2 separate regions of the Homo sapiens genome follow, and region 1 is linked to region 2. Evidence: promoter capture Hi-C in 16 types of primary human blood cells and fetal thymus (Javierre and others, 2016). All regions are on one chromosome and are shown on one strand. The core of a region is centred on a gene start or on the middle of the fragment in contact, and the rest is flanking DNA. Distances in the headings are between cores, read along the strand shown.

The links. The method cuts DNA at HindIII sites, captures the fragments that hold promoters and counts their contacts. A CHiCAGO score of 5 or more calls a contact.
Region 1: a contact is called between a fragment that was not itself captured here and the fragment with the promoter of REST in region 2, in 5 of 17 cell types (naive CD8 T cells, total CD8 T cells, total CD4 T cells and 2 more). The highest score is 7.9, in naive CD8 T cells.

Annotation. Positions count from the first base shown.
Region 1 is chr4:51,836,907-51,843,766 of GRCh38, reverse strand. It overlaps DCUN1D4 (defective in cullin neddylation 1 domain containing 4), which reads right to left and starts at 614. Exons shown (of 11, transcript NM_001040402.3): 1 at 500-614. The coding sequence starts at 524. RefSeq lists silencers at 57-136, 237-586, 677-726, 737-886. The HindIII fragment of the contact is 1,059 bases long and covers 3,346-4,404 here.
Region 2 is chr4:56,902,278-56,909,498 of GRCh38, reverse strand. REST (RE1 silencing transcription factor) reads right to left here and starts at 1,599. Exons shown (of 4, transcript NM_005612.5): 1 at 1,286-1,599. RefSeq lists enhancers at 1-282, 1,213-2,142 and silencers at 373-1,222, 1,333-1,722, 1,822-2,116. The HindIII fragment of the contact is 2,443 bases long and covers 1-2,054 here.

The DNA.
Region 1 (6,860 bases), core at 2,626-5,125, 5.1 Mb after region 2:
CCCCCGCGCCCCCCTCGCACTCACCCGCCTTTCTCACGGAGCCGCCCGCACCACTCAGCCCTTTGGAAATCCTCACCCTTGTGCCCCGCTCGCTCGCTCGCTCCCTCCCTCTCCCCGCCGGTGCCACCCCCCCACATCCCCGGCCCTGCCCGCTACAGCCCAACGCTGCCTCCACCTCCATGCACCCCGGACACTCCGATCTCGGCCCTTCATCGCACGTCCAGCCCTCCCTTCCCCCAACACTGAAAGAGAGCCAGTCCCCACCCCCCTCACCTCCGCCCTCCCCGCAGGCCGGTCCCTTCCCCCCACGCCCGCCCCCGCCCCACGCCGCCCGCAGCGTCACCGCCCGCCCCGGCCCCGGGAGGGGAAGGGGTGGTTCCCAGGCAGGGGCTCCCGGCGCGTTTCGGGACCCGAGGCGTGGGGCGGGGACTGCGGGAGCCGAGTGGCGAGTTTGGCAGCCGCCCGGCCCCGGCCCGCTGGCTGGCTCTCTGCTACTCACTGACAGCGGCGGCATCCGAGTGCATTTTCAGGCAGCTCACACCCGGCTCGCCGCCCAGGCTCCCGCGCTCGCCTCGCGGTCCCCCCACCAGCTCACTGCACCTCGGCTCGAAGCTGAGGACCCGCCGCCGGGCACTCCCAGCCCGCCCATCTCGCCTTCTCCATTGGCTAAACCGCGGCTCAGGGGCCGCCCTGCTGCGTCTCTCATTTGACAAAAGGAGTGCCCATAGCGCCGGTCTGGAGCTGGCAACGAGGCCCCGCCCCCCACTGGCCAATACGATTGGTCCTGGGGCCTTGTCTCCGTAACGCCCCTGGCGGAGGCCATGCTCCGGAGCAGCGGGTTGGGCCCGGCTGCTGTCAGTCACCCCCAGGGGTCCGAGAGCGCGTGTAGGGGCGAAGCTGGGAAATTGGTCCACCTTGACCCTGAAACCCCGCCCAGTGGCGGGCGGGATTGGTGGAGCTGGAGACCCACCAAGAAAGATGGGTCGGCGTCTGAAACAAAGCACGCGAAGTGTTTCCCAAAGAATAGAGCAGCGCAGCGCAGTTGGGGGCGGCTCGTACCAGCTGCTGGAAGTAGGGAAATGCGTCCGTCCCTAGCGCCCGGCGCGACGCGGCCGGGTCTCCCGCCACTTGTCCCACGACACTTGTCCAGTTCGCGCCGAACTCGGACTGGGACTTCTCTTGTCAGCTGCTTCCTACCGCAGGAAACTGGATTAAGAATTGCCGCGTCTTAATTTCCAGCAAACCTTCTGGTGGGGAGCAAATTTCCATTTCTCCTACGAAGATCCATCCTCTCCCCACTTTCGAAATGTACTTCTTTTCCAGAGTCCGCATACTTGTTTCGCAGAGTTCGCACACTTCTTTCCTCTAGTCACTAATGTCTGTTAAAGAGGCTTCGAATGCCACGAGCATTGTCCGTCACACACATCTGTATGCCCCAGACATCAGACAGAAATACAGGGCCGCGCTCTGAGCTGCGGACTGAGCCTAACACATGGACGAGTCCAGGGGGCAGACCACCAGCCCGTGAAAGACCCCCGGCGGCATCTAAGAAAACCTGTCACTCCCGCGGAGAGGCCGTCCAGAAATTGAAACTGGCTGTTATTTGGCAGAGGGAGACGTTAATTTTGGTGAATTCTTCTGACCCTAAGTCAAGAATTCGCACCATTTCCATGAGTCCTGCCCTGATTTTTCAATACTTGAAGCTAACTTATCACACCGCATTATGGTAACAGAACAATATTTCGAGATATTAACGGAGGATTCCCCCCACCCCAACCCACCCCCACCCTACCCTGCCTCCACCCTCATCCCAGCCACCAACTCCAACAACAACACACCTACAAGGCATCCCCATATCCTAAGGCCCTGGGCCATCTGGGAGCCTCAAAGAGTAGGTGACACCACAAATCACAGGTAACAGAACGCACGGTCTTTTTGGTTTTAGATTTCTACAGCCCAGGCTTTTGGGTTTCCAGGCTCTGAAATTTAGATTTTAAATCAGGACACAAATGTTATGCTATTTGGAAGGGGCTCAGACAAACCAGTTTCTGTGTCCCACAGCACTCCCATGGTAAAATGCTCCCTCCATCTTAATCGCTAATTTCTCTTTAATAAATTACATCCTTATAATACTATTTATATAATATTTTTATCATTCAAACATTTATGAATCACTTTATGGAATCTCAGAACTGTACCTGAAGTTATTTATTATTTGCTTCAGGTTCTTTCGCAAGACAAGAATCTCTCATAGAACATCCTTATTGATCACCTTTATCATGACAGTACCTCAGCGGGGCCCCACAGTGATGGGTAGGTACCTCTGGACTCTGAGATAGGGGATTGCTTGTTGGGCAGATCTAGCAGTAAGAATATCCGCCCTTACTCTGAGCAGGGAAGCTGCTCCTGCATTCTTTATTCTATTTATGTTTCAGCTTAATCTACATCTAGGAAATAATAAATTATATGTCATTTAATACAAGTTTCAAATCTTTTGTGTGTGTAATATTTATGATTTTTTTTTTTACCGTTTACCATGGTACTTCAAAGACTGAGACACATGTTATTTTGCACAGAAAAGGGCTTCCTTCGTGACACCTCTAAATTACAATAAGCCCACAATTAATTATAGCTAGTCATTTGCTCTATTAATTTATTTGCAGCATACTTTATAATAATGTGTATAAGAGTTAAGCTAGATGAAGGATGGGTCGGCTGCTTTGCCCCAGCTCCCAACACTGGCCTGGCATATGCATGGTGTCCATAAAAATTTATAGAATGTACAACCTCTGTTATTTCTCAACATTGCTTTCAGTTGAGTCAGTATGATTATTTTCAAGTAGAAAACAGACTTAGAGGTAATTTACCCAGATCTTTATAAAGAGTCAGCTATAGCCTAAGGATTGAGAGGCAAAGCTCATTCCTAGTCGGCTGACCCTCACTGCCCCCACGTTTTACAAAGTATAATAAAATGACTACATAATGCTCTGCAAATATTACCTGGTCATTTAAATAATCCACACCATATAAACCTCTGATATCAGGAAACTTGTTATAGTTATCTTTTTACTTGCCTAGCACCTAGTACAATGCTTTCAAATATTGTGGTAGGCACTGGTTAACCATACCCCTTAAAATGAATGTTTACCGTACATGAAATTTTAGATCTGGATAGGAACCTTGGTGATTATCAAATCCAACATCTTCATTTTAAAAATAAGAGACTTGACATCCAAAGGAGTTAAATGTTTAATCTGAGTCACTTGGCTAGTTGATAACAAAACAGGGCTTAAATTCAGGTTTCTCAACTCTATCCCCTGTACCACACTGTCTAATATCAAAGCTTCAAATTCCAAAGATAGGTAAACTACTCTCCCTTCCCATCTGAAAGTTACTATGCCAATCTAATACAAGTCTGCTTCATGGTTGAAATGTTGCCTTCTTTTTTATGTATTTCATTCAGGATTTTTTTCAATATGTAAATCAATACTTCACTTTTTTTTTTCTCATTTGTAGTATTCCCAAAGAACATGATCCCCATGGAGAGGTTTACTGAGATAATAATGTTATACTTCTGTACATTTATATTTGAATCCCTGGAGAAAAAAATTAATAATTGAATATCTTGGGACTGTGATGGGTAGAGATATTTGGAGATGCAGTCTTTATGCCATTTCATTTCACCCAGTTACTGCTTTAAGGTAATATTGAAGCAAGTTACTCCATGTTAATGATACCTAATTTAATTGGAATTTTTCTATTTTATTAGTCATACAATATTAATTTTAATCAGATATATTTTGAAATGCCCTAAGCCTAGATTAGAATGTGATATGGAGAAGTCTAGTAAGAGAAAAAAAACAGCAGAGCTCTTCAATCAAATGTTACGCTTTCCCCTAAATTCTGCTAAGCCCACTGTAGCATGCTTTTCCTGCATGTGTTGGGATTGGGAGTAGGAGGAAGAATAGCATAGTTCTTGAGACTGAAAATAAGTTGGGCCTGCACAGACAGATAAATGTGTCCCTGGTAAGATTTAAAGAGAATAAGAAAGAACACAGGACAGAGAGGAATTAATTTGGCCTTAGATTACAGTGAGAGAGTTGGCAGAACTCCTTTAGTAATAAAATGTCAGGCTAGGTGGGTTTCTAGTATTTGGAAATGAAAATAAACCCCCTCCGAAAGGAGAATTTATCCATAGAGGGCAGGATAGTTTTCTTTCTCCAAATATGACCAACTGAATTTGCTGTCCCAAGTGATAACAACTTCTTTCTTAATGCTTCCTATGTGACGGGCACTACTCTAATAGTACTGTACTGGTAAACTAATCTACTTAACTTCACAACAACACAGTGGAGTACTAATAACTAATAGTATCCCCAATCTACAGGTAAGTTAACTGAAGCTTCAAGAGCTTCGGTAACTTGCCACCCAGCTAATAAGTAAACGTGCCCCTAAGTAGCCAGACTCCATGTTTTTAATATTCCTGTGTTGGGCTTTAGTTTCTTTCTTTCTTTCTTCCTTTCCTTCTTTTCTTTCTTTCTTTCTTTCCTTCCCTCCTTCCTTCCTTCCTTCCTTCCTTCTCCTTTCTTCCTTCCTTCCTTCTCCTTCCTTCCTTCCTTCCTTCCCTCCCTCATTCCCTCCTTCTCTCCTTCCCTTCTTCCTTCCTTTTCTCTCTCTCTCTCTGTCTCTTTTGAGACGGAGTCTCACTCTGTCGCCCAGGCTGGAGTGCAGTGGTGGGATCTCCATTCACGGCAACCTCTGCCTCCTGGGTTCAAGTGATTCTCCTGCCTCAGCCTCTCAAGTAGCTGGGATTACAGGCACACGCCACCACACCCGACTAATTGTTGTGTTTTTAGTAGAGACGGGGTTTTGCCATGTTGGCCAGGATGGTCTCAAACTCCTGACCTCAGGTGATCTGCCCGCCTCAGTTCCCAAAGTGCTGAGATTACAGGCATGAGCCACCGCACCTGGCCAGTTCCTTCTCTTTTTAATCAGGTTAATATATGCCCCTATATACCTCAGAGATTATTTATAAGGATACAATAATATGGTTGTTAACATGCTCTCAAAAGATAGTGAAATCAGGCTGGGCATGGTGGCTCATGCCTGAAACCCCAGCACTTTCGGAGGCTGAGGTGGGTGGATCACTTGAGCCCAAGAGTTTGATACCAGTCTGGGCCAACACAGGGAGACCCTATCTCTACAAAAAAATGCAAAATTATCTGGGTGTGGTGGCAGCTGCCTGTAATCCTAGCTACTCAGGTGGCTGAGGTGGGAGGATCCCTTGAGCCCTATGGGTGGAGGCTGCAGTGAGCTGAGATCACGCCACTGCACTCCAGCCTTGGTGACAGAATGAGACCCTGCCTCAAATAAATAAATAAATAAATAAAGTGAAACCAGGCCTCTTTTTAGGGATGAACATCTAGCCACTCAGGCTCCTTTTATAGATCTATATAATGAAAAGTATGGGTCAGAAGGATTACATCCAGGTTACTAAATTCTTATTTATTTTACCCTTTTGACCTTATCCCCACAGCAAATGAGATTATTTATTCAGAGTGTCTAATGAAGCTCTGCTGAATGTTATAAATTCTCGACTTCGATATATCACTGAGAACCCAGGCTGGAGTGCAGTGGCATGATCTTGGCTCACTGCAATCTCCATCTCCTGAGTTCAAGTGATTCTTGTGGCTCATCGTGTAGCTGGGACTACATGCGTGTGCCACCATGCCCGGCTAATTTTGTATTTTTAGTAGAGACAGGTTTTCACCATGTTGGTCAGGCTGGTCTCTAACTCCTGACTTCAAGTGATCTGCCCGCCTCAAGCCTCTCAAAGTGCTGGGATTGCAGGTATGAGCAATAGTGCCTGGCCCTATACTTTTAAATTTTCTAGAAAATCCTGATATCTTTCCTCATGAAGGAGCCATCTTAGAAATCTCTCAGAAAAGCTAAGAATTTTCCAATTATATTTGACATCTGTGTTTCAGTTTTAATTTCGTTTAGCAATGATTTTTTTTTGCCTCTCCTGGATATAGAGAAAATATCATTTATTTGTAAATTATTTCTAACTTCTAAGATTTCTTTTTTTTTTTTTTTTTTTTTTTTTTTTTTTGAGACGGAGTCTCGTTCTGTCGCCCAGGCGGGAGTGCTGTGGCGCGATCTCCGCTCACTGCAAGCTCCGCCTTCCGGGTTCACGCCATTCTCCTGCCTCAGCCTCCCGAGTAGTTGGGACTACAGGCGCCCGCCACTGCGCCCGGCTAATTCTTTGTATTTTTAGTAGAGACGGGGTTTCACCGTGGTCTCGATCTCCTGACCTCGTGATCCGCCCGCCTCGGCCTCCCAAAGTGCTGGGATTACAGGCGTGAGCCACCGCGCCCGGCCTAAGATTTCTTAACACATCACTATCAGGGTAGCATTAGCAAGTCTTTTTGCTAATATTTTATTCCAGTACAGCCATAGAATTCTTAAACTGACTCTTTTCCTTTTTACTCAGGACCTTTTATTTTATGGAAATCACACCTGCCTAGGGAATTAACAAAGTATTTGAATAAAAATGTATTCATTCATTACCACATGTTCTTCTCTGAATTGAGTACTTTCACCTTATTCTGCATTGAGCTAATCAAGTCCTAATGATGCTGCATTAAATTTGATCTCAGAAGGTGCAATTTTCCAACTGAGTCTAAACAATGCATGACCTTTATGGTGTTTTTCATAAATATAGCATTGTTTCAATTACTCCAGCTAGCAGGGGCTGGACAGAAAGAATAATCATTTTATTTGGATAATGGCTTCTGTGTATTGTCAGGCTCTTAATTTCTCCTTGCCTTCTCTAGCCTGCTACCATGAATACAGTGTCT
Region 2 (7,221 bases), core at 350-2,849:
CCCAACATCGACTTTTCTAATTGCTCCCTAACCCCTAACTGCCACCCCAAATGGAATTTTAACGATTGTTAGGAAGACCGTCCAGGCACAGCCCGAAAGCCCAACGTGCTGCACGAATTCCTCCGTGCTGCTGCCACCAGCGCCTGCCTCGGCGGCGGCATTCCTAACTGAAATAGGCATTCGGCCATTTTCTCAAAATACCAAACACAAAGCAGCTCTTTGCAAACTCGGGCGCTCTCGCTTCCTCTCGCCTCGGCCCGCTCACTGCACACATTTACACACCAACTCGCGGGAGTCGCCCCGACACTCGTCCTGAGCCTTTTCCTGCGCTCTCCAACACTAAAACGGGGGAGGGGATCAAGCTCGAGGCGCTGTTTGGCCGGAACCAGTCCTCCCCGAGTCCAGGCAGCCCCCTCCCCAGCCCTAGGGCCCCCGTCCCGGGAGAGGACGGAAAGTTACCGCGCAGCCGGCGTCCGGGCTTCTCCGACCGCCCCCGGGCCCCTCCGACCGCCCCGGGGCTCGCCCAACGCCCAGGGCCGGGGAGGCTCCGCGGGCGCCCTCGCGAGGCGTCGGGCTCCGAGCGCCGGAGGGGGCCCCCACACGGGCCAGCCGCCACCCCCGCGCCCCGGAAGTTTGCGAACTTCACTCCCCCACGGCGCCCGGCAGGACGCGCGCCCCAGCCCCGCCAGCTCCAGCGGTCGGGTGGCCGGACGCGGGGGCCAGCGGCGCCGGACGGCTGAAGCGCAGAAATCGCTGTCCAGCCCCGCAGGCGGAACCGCCCGGGCCCCGGGGCTGACTCAACCCGCCCGGCCGCACTCAACGGCGCCTTCCGGCGACAGGGAGAGGCCCTGGGGGAGGGGGCCAGGAGGGCCGCGGGCCGGCGCGGGGCTGCGGTGGGACCCGGGGGCAGGAGGAGGAAGCAGAGGAAGTTTCAGGACTACGGGCCCGAGCAGCTCCGCTCCTTGGCCTCAAAGGACCTGACTCGGTGGAGCGTCCGGGCCAGCGCGGAGGCGGCGTCCCAGCCTCCAGTGGGGAGGGGGTCCAGGCGACGCGCTGCTCCCAACAAACGCCCCCAGCCCCCGGGCGGCTGCTGTGTAACCCGATCCTGCTCGGCCGCCAGCCCCCGCCCGGCGGGGCCGCCGCCGCCGGAGCCACAGTATCTGCAAATCAGCCCTGGACAGCGCCTGACTCCGCGTCCTTCCGCGCCCTCCCCGTCCCGCCACTGCCGCCGCCCGGGCGGCCCTCCCCCACCCTGACCGAGCCCCCAGCCCAGCGCCCCACTTACCGGCCTTCCTCGGTGAGGAGGGGCGGGCGACCCTGAGTCGCCGCTCCTTCTCCGACTACTTTTCTTTGTTGCTGGAGTTTCGGGGGAGAGGTGGGGGAGGGTGGTAAAGTTGGGTGCTGGGGCCGTCGTGGACCAAGAAGGCCCAGGAGTGGGGCTGCAGAGGGTGCTCAGGCCTCCGGGCCTCGCCCTGCCGTCTCGGCTGCGGCAGCCGCCGCCAGGGTCTGGGGCCCCGGGCCTCGGCGGCGCTCGCTCCGCTGCTGCGCCGCGAGCTCGCGGCAGCCGCACATTCCAACACAGGACGCTGCGCCGCGCACCCAGTCCGCGCCGCCGCCGCCGCCACCGCCCGCGGGACACGCCCCCTCCGACGCCCGCGCGCGCCCGCGAGACACGCCCCCTCCGACGCCCGCGCGCGTGGCCGCTAGGCGCGCCCCGCCCCTCTACCAAGCAAGGAGTGCCCCAGTCTCCAGCTCGCCTGGGGGCGCGTCTAGGGGGAGCCGCCCGTAATCCTCCCGGCCCCTCACTCCTGCCCTTAGGTCAGAAAAGAGGCGGGCCCCACTCCCTTTCTCGATTTCTATTACAAACAAACAACAAAAGTTCCCCCCAGCCCTGGCGTGCATGCATGAGAATAGAGCTGTTAAAAGAAGAATCCGCAGGCTTTGACGGGTCTCTTTAGAGCTATTGTCACCGGCCTCTCAAGTCTAAAGCGCTCCAAGATACCCTTCAGATCTCTTCAAGTCTCCACCCATAGCTGTCCTTGACTAATTAAGCTTCGTTTTAAGCGTCTGCGGTAAAAAAAAAAAAAAAAAAAAAAAGTCTTCCAAATTTCAAACTACCGGAGGGGGAATGCAGTCAGTTTGGGAGAAGTGAGAAGAAAACGTTTCAGGAAGGAGGTTATGGACTCAGAAAGCGTGAGCGTGAGGACTGAGGGGACAGATCCCTAGACGTGGCAGGTAGCAGGTCATTGCTGAGCCCGGAAAGCACGACTGCAGGGGAGGAATTACCCTCAGATGACAGAAGAAAAGGTGGTGAGGACGGGGAGGCTGCCTGGGGCCACGGTGTGTCGGAGTAACCGGGCTCACGTCTATGAAGCGGGATAACCAAGCGGAATGCCTAGCCCATAGTCATGTGCTAACAAAAACAAAAACAACAAAAAAGAACAGAGAGAGAGTAATTCCACCCCCTTTCACACCTGAAAGAGCTTCTCAGTCTGCCTTTGATACCTTCCTAAACGTCAGTCGTAAGTCACACCTGTCCTCAGAAGCATAGTGGCTCCCCATGACTACAAGCTTAAAGCTTAAACCCCTTAGTGTGGCGTTCAAGCCCCTACTTAACTTGACCTAGATAAGTCTGACTATTGCTTGGTATTACAACATAAGTAGCAAGTGCTATGGGGGTTTGCCAGTAGGAAGATGGATCCCAAGAGGTTCTAGAAACTTTTCACAGTAGATGTATTCAGTCTGACCTTGGAGAATGAGGAAAACTTCAACAGGTGGAAAGTAGGGCAAGGAACACTCTACACAGTGAAAAGGGCAAGCTCAAAATCCCAAAGCAGTTGTTAAGACATCCCAGCTTCTCCTCAGGGTACCTCACTTCCTTCTCTTTGAAGTTCCTTTATTTGTTTCTCTTAGGGCAGGGCTTCCAGACTCTTCATTTCCTGGTATACCCACGTAGGACCTCTGTTTCCCTCTATCTGGACAATATATTACTAATTAATGCAGTCTCCGATGCAAGATGAAATGAAGACCCTAAGGTGCTCGACCACCAAAAGTTTCAATGAGGCAATTTCAAATGTAACACCTCTCCATGAATCAAACCTGAAAAGTATTCATTTTCATTGAACCAAAGAGACAGGAAGGAAGGGAGGGAGGGAGGGAGGAAAGGAAGATCGACATTTTTAGGACTGGTACAAACTTTTCTATATATATTTTATTTGTTTAACTAAAATCAAGTTTGAGGTCACATGGCTTTTTTAGATGCTGTAGCCCAGGGTACAATTCAGGCCTCTACCAAGGTTGTCAAAGACATAAACTTGTTTTCTTTCCCTTTTTTAGGTCCAAAAAGGCAAAAATGAAATGTCTCTTGTTAAACTTACTAAATGTCCTTCATTTCCTCAATCTGACTGCTTACTGGAAATGTCTTATTAATTGCAAATTTATTCCCACATATTGTGATGCAAATAGAAGAATGGCGAATGGGCAGCTGCATTCATTTAAAATTAGCAGAGGCCCTTGTTCAAGGGATGGCATATTCAGAGTGACCCAAATTATCATGACATGAAGGCCACAGGTCAAATTCATAGGCCAAATTACAAATCAATTGAAAATTTTCTTGAGGGAAGCTGTTGCTATGAACTTGAATTCCTAACTGTTTTTCAAAAGTCTGTATTTTACTTTGCTGTATCCAAACTTTAGGATCTTCTGCAAGATAAAAACTCTGAAATGAGAATGAGTTCTGCTTTTCTTATATGGTTTTTTTCCTGCATATTTAACTCATCAATTTTTTTATTTTAATTATCATATGTTCTTAATAGTATTTTCTCTAGAGAGATTTCTTTCTTTTTTTTTTTTTTTTTTTTTTTGAGACAGAATTTGGCTCTTTTTGCCCAGGCTGGAGTGCAATAGCACGATCTCGGCTCACCGCAACCTCCGCCTCCCGGGTTCAAGCAATTCTCCTGCCTCAGCCTCCCGAGTAGCTGGGATTACAGGCATGTGCCACCACGCCAAGCTAATTTTGTATTTTTAGTTAGAGACGGGGGTTTCTCCATGTTGGTCAGGCTGGTCTCGAACTCCCAACCTCAGGTGATCCGCCTGCCTCGGCTTCCCAAAGTTCTGGGATTACAGGCGTGAGCCACCACACCTGGCCAATTATATATATATATATATATTATTTTTTTTTTTGACATGGAGTCTTGCTCTGTCACCCAGGCTGGAATGCAAAGGTGCGATCTCGGCTCACTGCAACCTCCACCTCCCGGGTTCAAGTGATTCTCCTGCCTCAGCCTCCCGAGTAGCTAGGATTACAGGCACGTGCCACCTTGTCTGGCTAATTTTTGTATTTTTAGTAGAGATGGTGTTTCACCATGTTGGCCAGGCTGGTCTTGAACTCTTGACCTCAGATGATCCACCTGCCTGGGCCTCCCAAAGTGCTAGGATTACAGGTGTGAGCCACCCCGCCTGGGAGTCTTGCTCTGTCGCCCAGGCTAGAATGCAGTGGCAAGATCTTGGCTCACTGGAACCTCTGCCTCCTGGGTTCAAGCAATTCTCCTGCCTCAGCCTCCCGAGTAGCTGAGATTACAGGCACCCGCTAGGACGCCCAGCTAATTTTTGTATTTTAGTAGAGATGGGGTTTCACTATGTTGGTCAGGCTAGTCTCGAACTCCTGACCTGAGGTGATCCACCCGCCTCGGCCTCCCAAAGTGCTGGGATTACCTGTGTAAGCCACCGAGTCCAGCCAGCATCATCTACTCTTGCTGCCGGTTGGACTCTGACCTCTTGTTCTGGTTCTGATAACTGGAATAGTGTCTTACTCATTATAGGCATCAACAGCTTGAGCCAGGGAGGTTTTCCCTTCATGCTGAGAAGGGAAGGAGGTGAACAAGAGAACTTGAGACTTGAGCTGGGCTCCTTCCTGCCTTCTTTTGGAGCCTAGATCACATTTGGAACCCGCTCCCATTTTCGTCCAATCCTAATGCCCTTCCCTGCTGTTTCTGCTCCCATTTTCGTCCAATCCTAATGCCCTTCCCTGCTGTTTCTGTCTCTAACATTTATTACTAACATGCTAGGTATTTTTATTTATTTACCCTACTTAGGAACTTAAGCTCCAGAAAGGCAGAGACATTTTTTTATCCCCAGCACCTATAACTCGTTAGTTGCTCAACAAATATTAGTTAGATGAATGGTTACAAAATCCTAGCTTGGTATCACAATCTCTCAAAGTGGGGACCATCCTTACCCATGTCGGTACCCAACGTTCAGTACCCATCACAGTCTTCCCTCATGTTAAGCATGAGCCTGCCTCCTTGAATCTCCCTAATAACTACTGTTAAATAAATTAATGCTCCTGGATCCCTGGTCTTGGGGTTCTACCCTCCTGGTGAAAATCTCCCTGCCTGCTCTTCTGCATATTGTATTCCTAGCACATTCCTGATTTCACGCATCAGCCTCTGGTTGGATATTCCTTGGTGATCATTAACAATCTGTTTTGGCCAGGTGCGGTGGCTCACGCCTGTAATCCCAGCACTTTGGGAGGCTGAGGCAGGCAGATCACCTGAAGTCGAGAGTTCTAGACCAGCCTGACCAACATAGAGAAACCCTGTCTCTACTAAAAATACAAAATGAGCTGGGCATGGTGGCACACGCCTGTAATCCCAGCTACTTAAGAGGCTGAGGCGGGAGAATGGCTTGAACCTGGGAGGCGGAGGTTGCGTGAGCAGAGATCGTGCCAGTGCACTCCAGCCTGGGCAACAAGAACAGAACTCCATCTCAAAAAAAAAAAAAAATGTTTCAACCTTAGGTATCGTTCCATTTGATGGGTTTAAATACAAGTTACATAGCCTATCAACTGCATTGCTCTGCCTCTCTCTTCTCTGGCCTTTACCATTGTCCTTCCTTCCAGAATTCTCCCTCCAAATGTTATGTAGGCCACAAAATGTCACAAATGCAAGAGATCTTAGAGGTGCAGGCTCTTGTTTTATATGTAAAAGGAGACAGGCCTACAAGCTTTTGGCTTGTCCAGGTTTGCACAAGTAGTTAGGGCACAGATGGAGGTAGGACCCATGACTCAATTTCCAGCCAGTCCGGTGCTCTTTCCATGTCTCTCAGACACTTTGTCCAGTCTTCTTTCTGCTCTACCCTGGCCCTATTCCCGAAAACATCTTTTAATCTTTGGGGCCTGATGGGCCACTATGTACAATGGCTTTAGAGATGTATATATTTGAGATAGGGGGACTTTTCAGATCCGCAATTCCATAACTCTGAAGCCTACTTTTTATATTAAGATTAATTACCTTCTGGGCCAGGCCCAGTGGTTCACGCCTGTAATCCCAGCACTTAGGGAGCCCGAAGTGGAAAGATCACTTGAGCCCAAGAGTTCGAGACCAGCCTGGGCAACACAGTGCGACCTCATCTCTAGTAAAAATAATTTTTTAAAAATAGCTGGTGTGGTGAGGTGTGCCTGTAGTCCCAGCTACTTGGGAGGCTGAGGTAGGAGGATTGCTTGAGTGCAGGAGATTGGGGCTGCAGTGAGCCAGGATCACACCACTGCACTCCAGCTGGGTGACACAGCAAGACCACGTCTCGAAAAAAAAAAAAAAAGATTTATTACCTTCTGGCTTGGGAAGCAGAAGCCCTTATTGTCTTCCATGGCATTTAAAACACTCAAGAGCCAACATTGACATGTTAATTTACAAAGCTAATCATCAATTTAGAGGAATATGGACTTGACTCAGAAGACAACTTCTGGCAACCTTTCCCTTCTTCCCAAGGAGAGGTTAAAACCTTCCCACATGAACTCCTAAAGTGCCATAAGTATACTCTTGCGCCTGTTTTCTTTCCCATGTCTTTCTCATCTGTCTGAGAGGGTCTAGAGACAAGAAACTGTGTTGTGTGTTCTCAACATGCTGATATTCCTGACACAGTAAATAAAATCAAACTTCTGGCAAAGTGTATCAACCCAAAGCTAAAGCCAGGCACTGGCTTTATGCATAAATGTTTCCTAGATTAATGAACCTGTACATTTTCCTTGTTTGTCTAAAAATTATCACTAAACCTACTAGAATGGCTAAAAGTTTAAAAAGCTAAGTATAAAATGCAACAAGGGCTGGGTGCGGTTCTCATGCCTATAATTCCAGCACTTTGGGAGGCCAAGGGGCGCAGATCACTTGAGGTCAGAAGTTCAAAACCAGCCTGGGCATCATGGCAAAACCCTGTCTCTACCAA